Regions from separate parts of the Homo sapiens genome. Here region 2 is linked to region 1. Evidence: promoter capture Hi-C in 16 types of primary human blood cells and fetal thymus (Javierre and others, 2016). All regions are on one chromosome and are shown on one strand. The core of a region is centred on a gene start or on the middle of the fragment in contact, and the rest is flanking DNA. Distances in the headings are between cores, read along the strand shown. Region 1 holds the start of TRADD (TNFRSF1A associated via death domain). Region 2 holds the start of LOC107984821 (a long non-coding RNA gene).

The links. Contacts are between HindIII fragments. The CHiCAGO score rates a contact against its expected background, and 5 or more counts as called.
Region 2: a contact is called between a fragment that was not itself captured here and the fragment with the promoter of TRADD in region 1, in 3 of 17 cell types (M1 macrophages, erythroblasts and M0 macrophages). The highest score is 5.8, in M1 macrophages.

Annotation. Positions count from the first base shown.
Region 1 is chr16:67,157,953-67,161,428 of GRCh38, reverse strand. It overlaps TRADD (TNFRSF1A associated via death domain), which reads left to right and starts at 1,520. Exons shown (of 5, transcript NM_003789.4): 1 at 1,520-1,591. It overlaps FBXL8 (F-box and leucine rich repeat protein 8), which reads right to left and starts at 1,472. Exons shown (of 3, transcript NM_018378.3): 1 at 1,373-1,472. RefSeq lists silencers at 242-331, 1,352-1,491 and an enhancer at 2,092-2,351. The HindIII fragment of the contact is 14,896 bases long and covers 1-3,476 here.
Region 2 is chr16:66,902,317-66,905,792 of GRCh38, reverse strand. It overlaps LOC107984821 (a long non-coding RNA gene), which reads left to right and starts at 533. Exons shown (of 3, transcript XR_001752244.2): 1 at 533-702. RefSeq lists an enhancer at 136-2,620. The HindIII fragment of the contact is 9,071 bases long and covers 1-3,476 here.

The DNA.
Region 1 (3,476 bases), core at 271-2,770:
GCTCTTTACCCAGGCTGGAGTGCAGTGGCGCAATCACAACTCACTGCACCCTCAGTCTCCCGGGCTCAAGCAATCCTCCCACCTCAGCCTCCCGAGTAGCTGGGACTACAGGGGCACGCCACCACGCCTGGCTAATTTTTGTAATTTTGTTGCAGAGACGAGGTCTCGCTTTGTTGCCCAGACTGACCTCGAACTCCTAGGCTCAAGCGATCGGCCCGCCTGGGCCTCCCAAAGTGCTGGGATTACGGGCATGAGCCACCGCGCCCGGCCTGAGAAACCCCATCTTAACCCCGCCGGTTAGTAGAAAGTGACTACAGGGTTAATAAGGCGGGAGCGTTAATGTAGGCTTTTCTTTGTCAGGGACCATGAGCCAATCAGGAAGCGAGGCGTGGGCGGGGCAAAGCTGGATCCACCCCTGGAGGGGAGGCTCCTTCCCCGCCTCCGCCTCGCCGGGGAGATGTCCCGGGTGCTTCCTAAGACAGCCCCACTGGATGAAAAAAAACTTGGGTCTCTGGGACCTGACGGTTCTGGGGCCTGAGGGGCTCAAGATTTAAGTTCCGACCCCTGAGCAGCCCTGGCTCCCGCTGAGCAATTTGGGTTCGGCTGGAACTCCGCAGACCCACCCTGGAGCGCAGCCTTTAGAGGGGGATGGGTTACTGGAAAGTGTGCGTCCTCTTTGAAGTTGCCAATCCTGTTTGTTTTTGTTTTGTTTTGTTTTGAGACGGAATCTAGCTGTGTCGCCCAGGCTGGAGTGCAGTGGCGAGATCTCGGCTCACTGCAAACTCCGCCTCGCGGGTTCAAGCGATTCTTCTGCCTCAGCCTCCCGAGTAGCTGGGACTCCAGGCGCGCGCCACCTCGCCGGGCTAATTTTTGTATTTTTAGTAGAGACGGGGTTTCACCATATTGGCCAGGCTGGTCTCAAACTCCTGACCTCAGGTGATCCACCTGCCTCGGCCTTCCAAAGTGCTGGGATTACAGGCGTGAGCCACCGCGCCCGGCCGCCAATCTTGTTTTAAGGTTCTTAAAGGTTTGTGTACACAAGGCTTCACACTACTCGCCAGTTAATGTTCCCATATCTTCCGGGCTAACAGTTTCTCCCGGAATTTGTGCCACGTGTTTCCTGGGGCTTCAGATACGTTCGGCCGGGCTTGTACCTGGGACCCATGGGCACCCCGTTTTGAGTGCCCACTGGTAGCAGCGATCTTGAAGCCGGATCCCCAGGGGTACCAGAAAATTCTGGTCTCCAGGGGGCGCCCCCTTGATTTACCGAAGTCTGGCAGCTGTAGCTCTTACGAGCCCCCCGCCTCGTAAGAATCGCAAACCCCCAAAGTCGGGTCTTCCTGCCGTCTAACCTTGGGCGCTGGTGTCTTACCTGCTCGGCGGACCAGATGGGCTTTGCCCGGGGCAGGGGACTGGCAGCAGAGGACAGCGGACGGGAAGCAGCCACCGGGAGCCCGCGGGGCGGGACGCGCGGGCGGACGGGGCGGCTCGGGCTAGGGCACCGCCCCAGCGCCTCCGCGCACACCCGGAAGCGGCGGAGTAGAGCGGAGCCTGGCGGGCGTGGGAACCCAGGCCCCGCCGAGGCGGCCAGGTTAGTGCAGCAGGTGGGTGGGTGGGCTCCCCGGTGCGGGCGGGAGAGGAGGTGGATCTTGGCTCCGAAGCGTGGGCGCGGCGCAGATGTCACCGGCGGCTGCTCCAGCCAGCTGGTGGCGGCGGTCTACTGAGCTGTTCGAACACCGTGGGAGGCGGGGGACGGTACGGAATTTGGCCCCCGCAGGCTCCTCGTCCCTGCCAGCACTTTCGAGGTGCAGTAGGGCCCTGCAGGAGAGAGGGTGGGGGAGAAGGGGCTGGTTCTGAATACTTTCCTTGAGCGGAGACCCCCTTGCCCACCCCAGCCGATCGCACGTGCGAAACCCCAGCTTGAGGGTGGGCTAGTGGGAGCCTGGGAAGCTCCCCTCAAGCGCTCGGGAGCTGCGTAGCTGAGTAGGGGGTGTGCCCGGCGGGTCGCAAGGAGTCACAGGCTTTCAGTTCTGGGCCACGCCCACAGGCTGTCTCTGTCCACCCAGCCAGAGGTGGGGCTGCCCCCGGGACTGTTAGGTGTTCAGGGGGCACCGTGCGTGGCTCGTCCCTGGAAACAGGCGCAGAAGTTGTTAGGTCGGTACCTAAGCGCCCCACAGTCTCCGGCCACCAAACTTTCTCAGGACCCAGCCTGGAAGCCTCAGCCCCGCCCAAAAAGGGACGACTCCTGGTGGGTGGGGCGCGGGGCTTCCCAAGGAGGGGCTTCCGTGAAAGAACACGTAAGAAGAGCTGCCAGTCGGCGGATGCGAAACTAGGGCCCTGGCCTCTTTACCCTGTTAACTCGACCTCCAGCCTGGTTCACCTTCCCCATCTTCTAGTACTAGTGAGTGTGAGAAAGCATCCCCAGTCTCCAGGTTCCCAGTACTCCCCACCTCCCCCTCGACCCCCACAGACCTGATGGGCAGACAATGGTCCTGTTCGGTCCCCACTTCCACCCCTTGGGGTGGGACCATAACCAAGTCAAGCACTCTCAAGTCAAGGGGCCAGAAAGACATGAAAGAGGGAATGTTTCCAGGGGAAGTTCCCACTCTCTCCTACTCCCCAGGCCACTTTCGAAGGACTCCCCCCTTATCTCACCTCCGTGGCTGGCTCCCTATTATGGACCCACTTGTCACCTGCAGAGTTTCCTGTTTTTTCTTGTTTTGCTTTTAAAGAAAACAAATTTATTTTGCTCTTTTAATACAAAGAAAATATGTCTACTTCACATAAAGCAGAAAATATTGCTAAATACAAAGAAAATAAAAATCACCCACAATCCTTCCCCACCCCCACCTACCTTCCTTCATCCTGCCCAGAGATAAACAAAATGCAAACTTCCTGTTACTATCCAGACTGTGGTTTGGCGTAAGTACACAAGTATTAATGTTTTCTATGAAAAGATTAGAAGGCTGGGTGTGGTGCCTCACACCTGTAACCCAGCACTTTGGGAAGCTGAGGTGGGCAGATCGCTTGAGCCCAGGAGTTTGAGACCAGCCTGGGCAACATGGTGAAACTCCATCTCTACTAAAAATACAAAAACTAGCCAGGCATGGCGGCGTGTGCCTAAAGTCCCAGCTACTTGAAAGGTTGAGGTGAGAGGGTTGCTTGAGCTGGGAAGGTCAAGGCTGCAGTGAGCTGCGATAGTGCCACTGCACTCCAGCCTGGGTGACAGAGCAAGACCCTGTCTCAAAAACAAGACAATTGAAAAAACAAAGGTCGAGAGTAGTGCCTTACTCCTGTAATCGCAGCACTTTGGGAGGCCAGGGCAGGAGGACAGCTTCCTGTTCCTCATGTAAACAGATGGCAGCTGGGCCACCCCATCTGTCCTGCCCCATAGCTAACACTCAACACTCCTCTTAGCCCACCATATATAAACCCTGATGAGAGTACAGGAGTGTGACTGATGGGGCAGGAGGTAG
Region 2 (3,476 bases), core at 429-2,928, 260 kb after region 1:
TTACTTGGTGATACAAGTTTTTGTCGTTAGGAAAACTACATGAGATAATCCCTGCACAATGCATTTAGCACAGTGCCAGGCACTGCAGGGCTCAGTAAATGTGACTTTCCCCAGTGCATGGATTGTTGAGGGACCTACATCCCCGCACTTACACACACTCCCTAGAGGTCCCAAGAGGCCCAGGCTTTTGGGAGGGAGTTTGGAGAGGGGCCCCAGCTCCAGCCCCAAAGCAAGAGTGCAAGACACCCCTTCCAGCCCCAGCTCCCTTCCAGTGCCCAGGTGCTCTTAGGGTCTGTGATGTCCAGGGTCTCACAGGGTTCTGGGCTGGAGCTGGAGGGGGTTGAGGGGTGGGCCCCAGCAGAGGCCTCATGCTCCCCTTCTCCCAGGCCCCTTCCAGAGGCACTGGGCCAGATCAAAGGGACCCAGCACGGAGGATCAGGAGGCAGCTTGGAAAGAATGTAAACATGAGGATATTTTTAAACTTTTTCCAGCCCCAGCGATTAGGGCTCTTGAAGCCGGAGGCCCAGAGGTCAGTCTGGCCCTCACCCACAAAGAAAGCAACAGTCTCGGGCCCTCAGAGACCCCACCCCACCCACATCTACCTACACCCACCCAGGACTCTAGCTGGGGCCTCGGGGCAGAAGTTCTTCCTAGGGTGTCACCTCCAGACACACTGCTGCGGCGGGAGGATGCGTTTCTAATGTGAGGGCCTCAGCGGCATGGGACCCTGACTTAAGGGGTGGTGGGGGCCTACCAGACAGGGCTGATGTTGGAAGACTGAGCTTGGGAGGCTTCTTAGTGGCCCAGTCACTCTACCAGGCGTGTGTGCACACGTGTGTCTGTGGGTGTATAAGTATATGCTGCAGTCTGGTCTGTGTGATGCACGCATCGGAATGTGTGAGTGTGCGAGGAGCTTGCCTCGGCCCACCCTTCCTCGTTCTTCCCTAGCATCCCTGACCTCCTCCCTGGGACCCCTTTGGTAGGTGGGTGACATGGGGGGGGTACAAAAGAGGAAGAGTCGCCTGAGAACAGGGAGGACGCGAGGAGAGAAAGGCGCCAGAGCCGGGGGCGAGGAGGCTGGGGGTACCAGGTCCGGGGCCATGCAATGAGTCAGGCTGTGAGAGCTGCAGGAGTCACTGATGTGGGGACTGGGACTCGGCTCCCTCCATCACCCCCATGTGTCACAGTTGGAGATGAGGCTCCCTGGATCTCCCGATTCCGGTGTCACAACTACGCTCACCATGGGTTCCATGACAACAGCCTCTTACCTTGTAGTCACGCAGCTACCCTCACACCCTCACAGGAGTGTCACAGGACTCATGCAGGGCCCCCCCAACACCACCCAGTGGTCGTATCCCAGTGACCCCTATCTGTGAGACATGAGGACCCTCACTGTCTTCACATCCCCACTGACCAGAAAGCCAGAATTCACAGGGGCACTCAGAAGCCAGACTAGACTGTGGTCACCAGGACAACGGGGTACCCAGCCCCTGGAGAGGCCTCGGCTGGCTATCTCATTCTCCAGGGGCTGCTGTGCCACCTTGCCCTGCTTGTGGGCCCTGAGAGGGACAATGTCCAGCTCCATGTCATACAGCTCCCCAGTGAAGGGCAGGGCTCAGGCCCCAGCTCAGGATCAATGTGGCGATGGCATCCCCTCCAGATTCCCCCTGCTGAGGCAGCAGCCACAAGGGATGAGGCTTGGAGTTTTACCCTAAGATGTGGTAGGATTTTGGGCCCAGGATGATGGGGGAGCTAGGTGGGGCTGGAACTGATGGAAAGGGGAACCTGGAGACTCATCCTCAGTCTGAGGCTGAGGCTGGACACCTAAAGACATGGTTTGTGTCCCTGTGGGTGCCCACTCACTGGGGCTGTTGCTATTCTTATCCACCTCCCAGTGGCGGTGGCAGTGGTAGTGGCAGTAGGGTCAGAGATAGCTGCTACGTGGGAGAGAGTCATGAGCACCAGCCCTTTATCTGACACATTCCCTGGAAACTTGGCAGGGCCTGCCAGCCTCTGGGGGCCTGGGCGGGGCAGGGCGTGAGGTGGTCACAGGGATAGGATGAGGGGGCTGGGCTGGGCTCAGTGCCGATGAGGACCCGCTCCAGCTGCCTCTCCCACAGCCAGGCAAGGTCCCCTCAGAATTGGCCTGGGGGGTTCTAGTGAGATTTCTTCCCATGCGGAGACTAAGACCACAGGTCACCCTCAGCTCCTACTCACCCTCAGTCCAACCCAGAACACCCCACCGTTGGCCCCATCTCTGAGCTTTGGGCACTCCAGAGAACAATGTATTGGCTTCCTCAGTGATGTGGCTTCTTCCACGGGAGAGCACTGAACTGTGAGCCACAGTGGCCCCATCTGGTGGCTGTCCTGCCTACTTCCCAGCCTCGTGATCTTGGGCAAGTCAATTCCCATCTCTGAGCCTCAATTTCCTCATCCCTCTCCTGGGCTGTGGTGGAGATGACAGGGTCCAGTGGTCAGGAAGCAGGCTGACGGCTGCAAAATGTGAGTGTGTGTGCACGTGAGCACTTGGGTGGGGGGGCCAGAGTGGGGAGAGGGAGGCATATGGGTCTCCCACTTTGGGAGACTCCCGCCCTATGGATTTTCCACTGGCATGTCGGCACCCTCTCCCCTAAAATAGGCTCTACGAGCCGTGTGCGACAGAGCCCAGACTGAGGGGCCTTTTTTTAGCTGGCCTTTGATTGTCAGCTCTCGAGCAGCTGCTATTTTGAGCCCCAACGCCTAGAGGAGTAGGGCCAAGTGGGGGCTGAGGTTAGCTCAGTGGGCCTGGCTGGCTCCCCGAAGGCATCCCCAAGGGGGCTGGCCATCCCATCTCACACCCTGCATTGCTGGCAAGGAGAGCACGACATCTCCTATAGATGGGGCCTAAGGGCTCCTCTGTCTACCTCTGCGGAAGCTGCAGACCTGGCAGAAAACAACCACATTTACAGAGCACACCCCACAGGCCACTGCCCACCCACCCCCACCCAGAGAAGAGCATGCTGTGGGGATTAACTGAGATAATACAAGCAAAGCCCTTACTTAGCACAGAGGCTGGCACATAATTGGCTCTCAAAAAATGGAACAGCTTCTGTTATTATTGTCATTACAGCTGCAGTCATTCTTGGTTTTGTTGTTATAGTTATGTTTTTACCAGATTTCTTTCCAGTCTTTTTTCTATGCATTTATTTTATGTTACTGGGTTCGGGACATGACCCTTCCCACCCCATCCCCATACATGTGTACACGCCTAGTTTCAGCAGAAAGCAGCCCCTCTCAGTCTGCTGGGGTGCCCTCTATGTCTCTGTGCTCCACTCCATACAGGAATCCCCCCTTCTATATAAGGCTTTTGGGGTTGACCCTCGAGATGGCACTTGACCTTTCAGAGTGGATGTAGTTGTGCCCACAGCTTCTGTGATTTCTTCAAATGCCATCAGCCACTGCCCCATAGGATTCCAGGCCCCCAATTCTGAATGTCC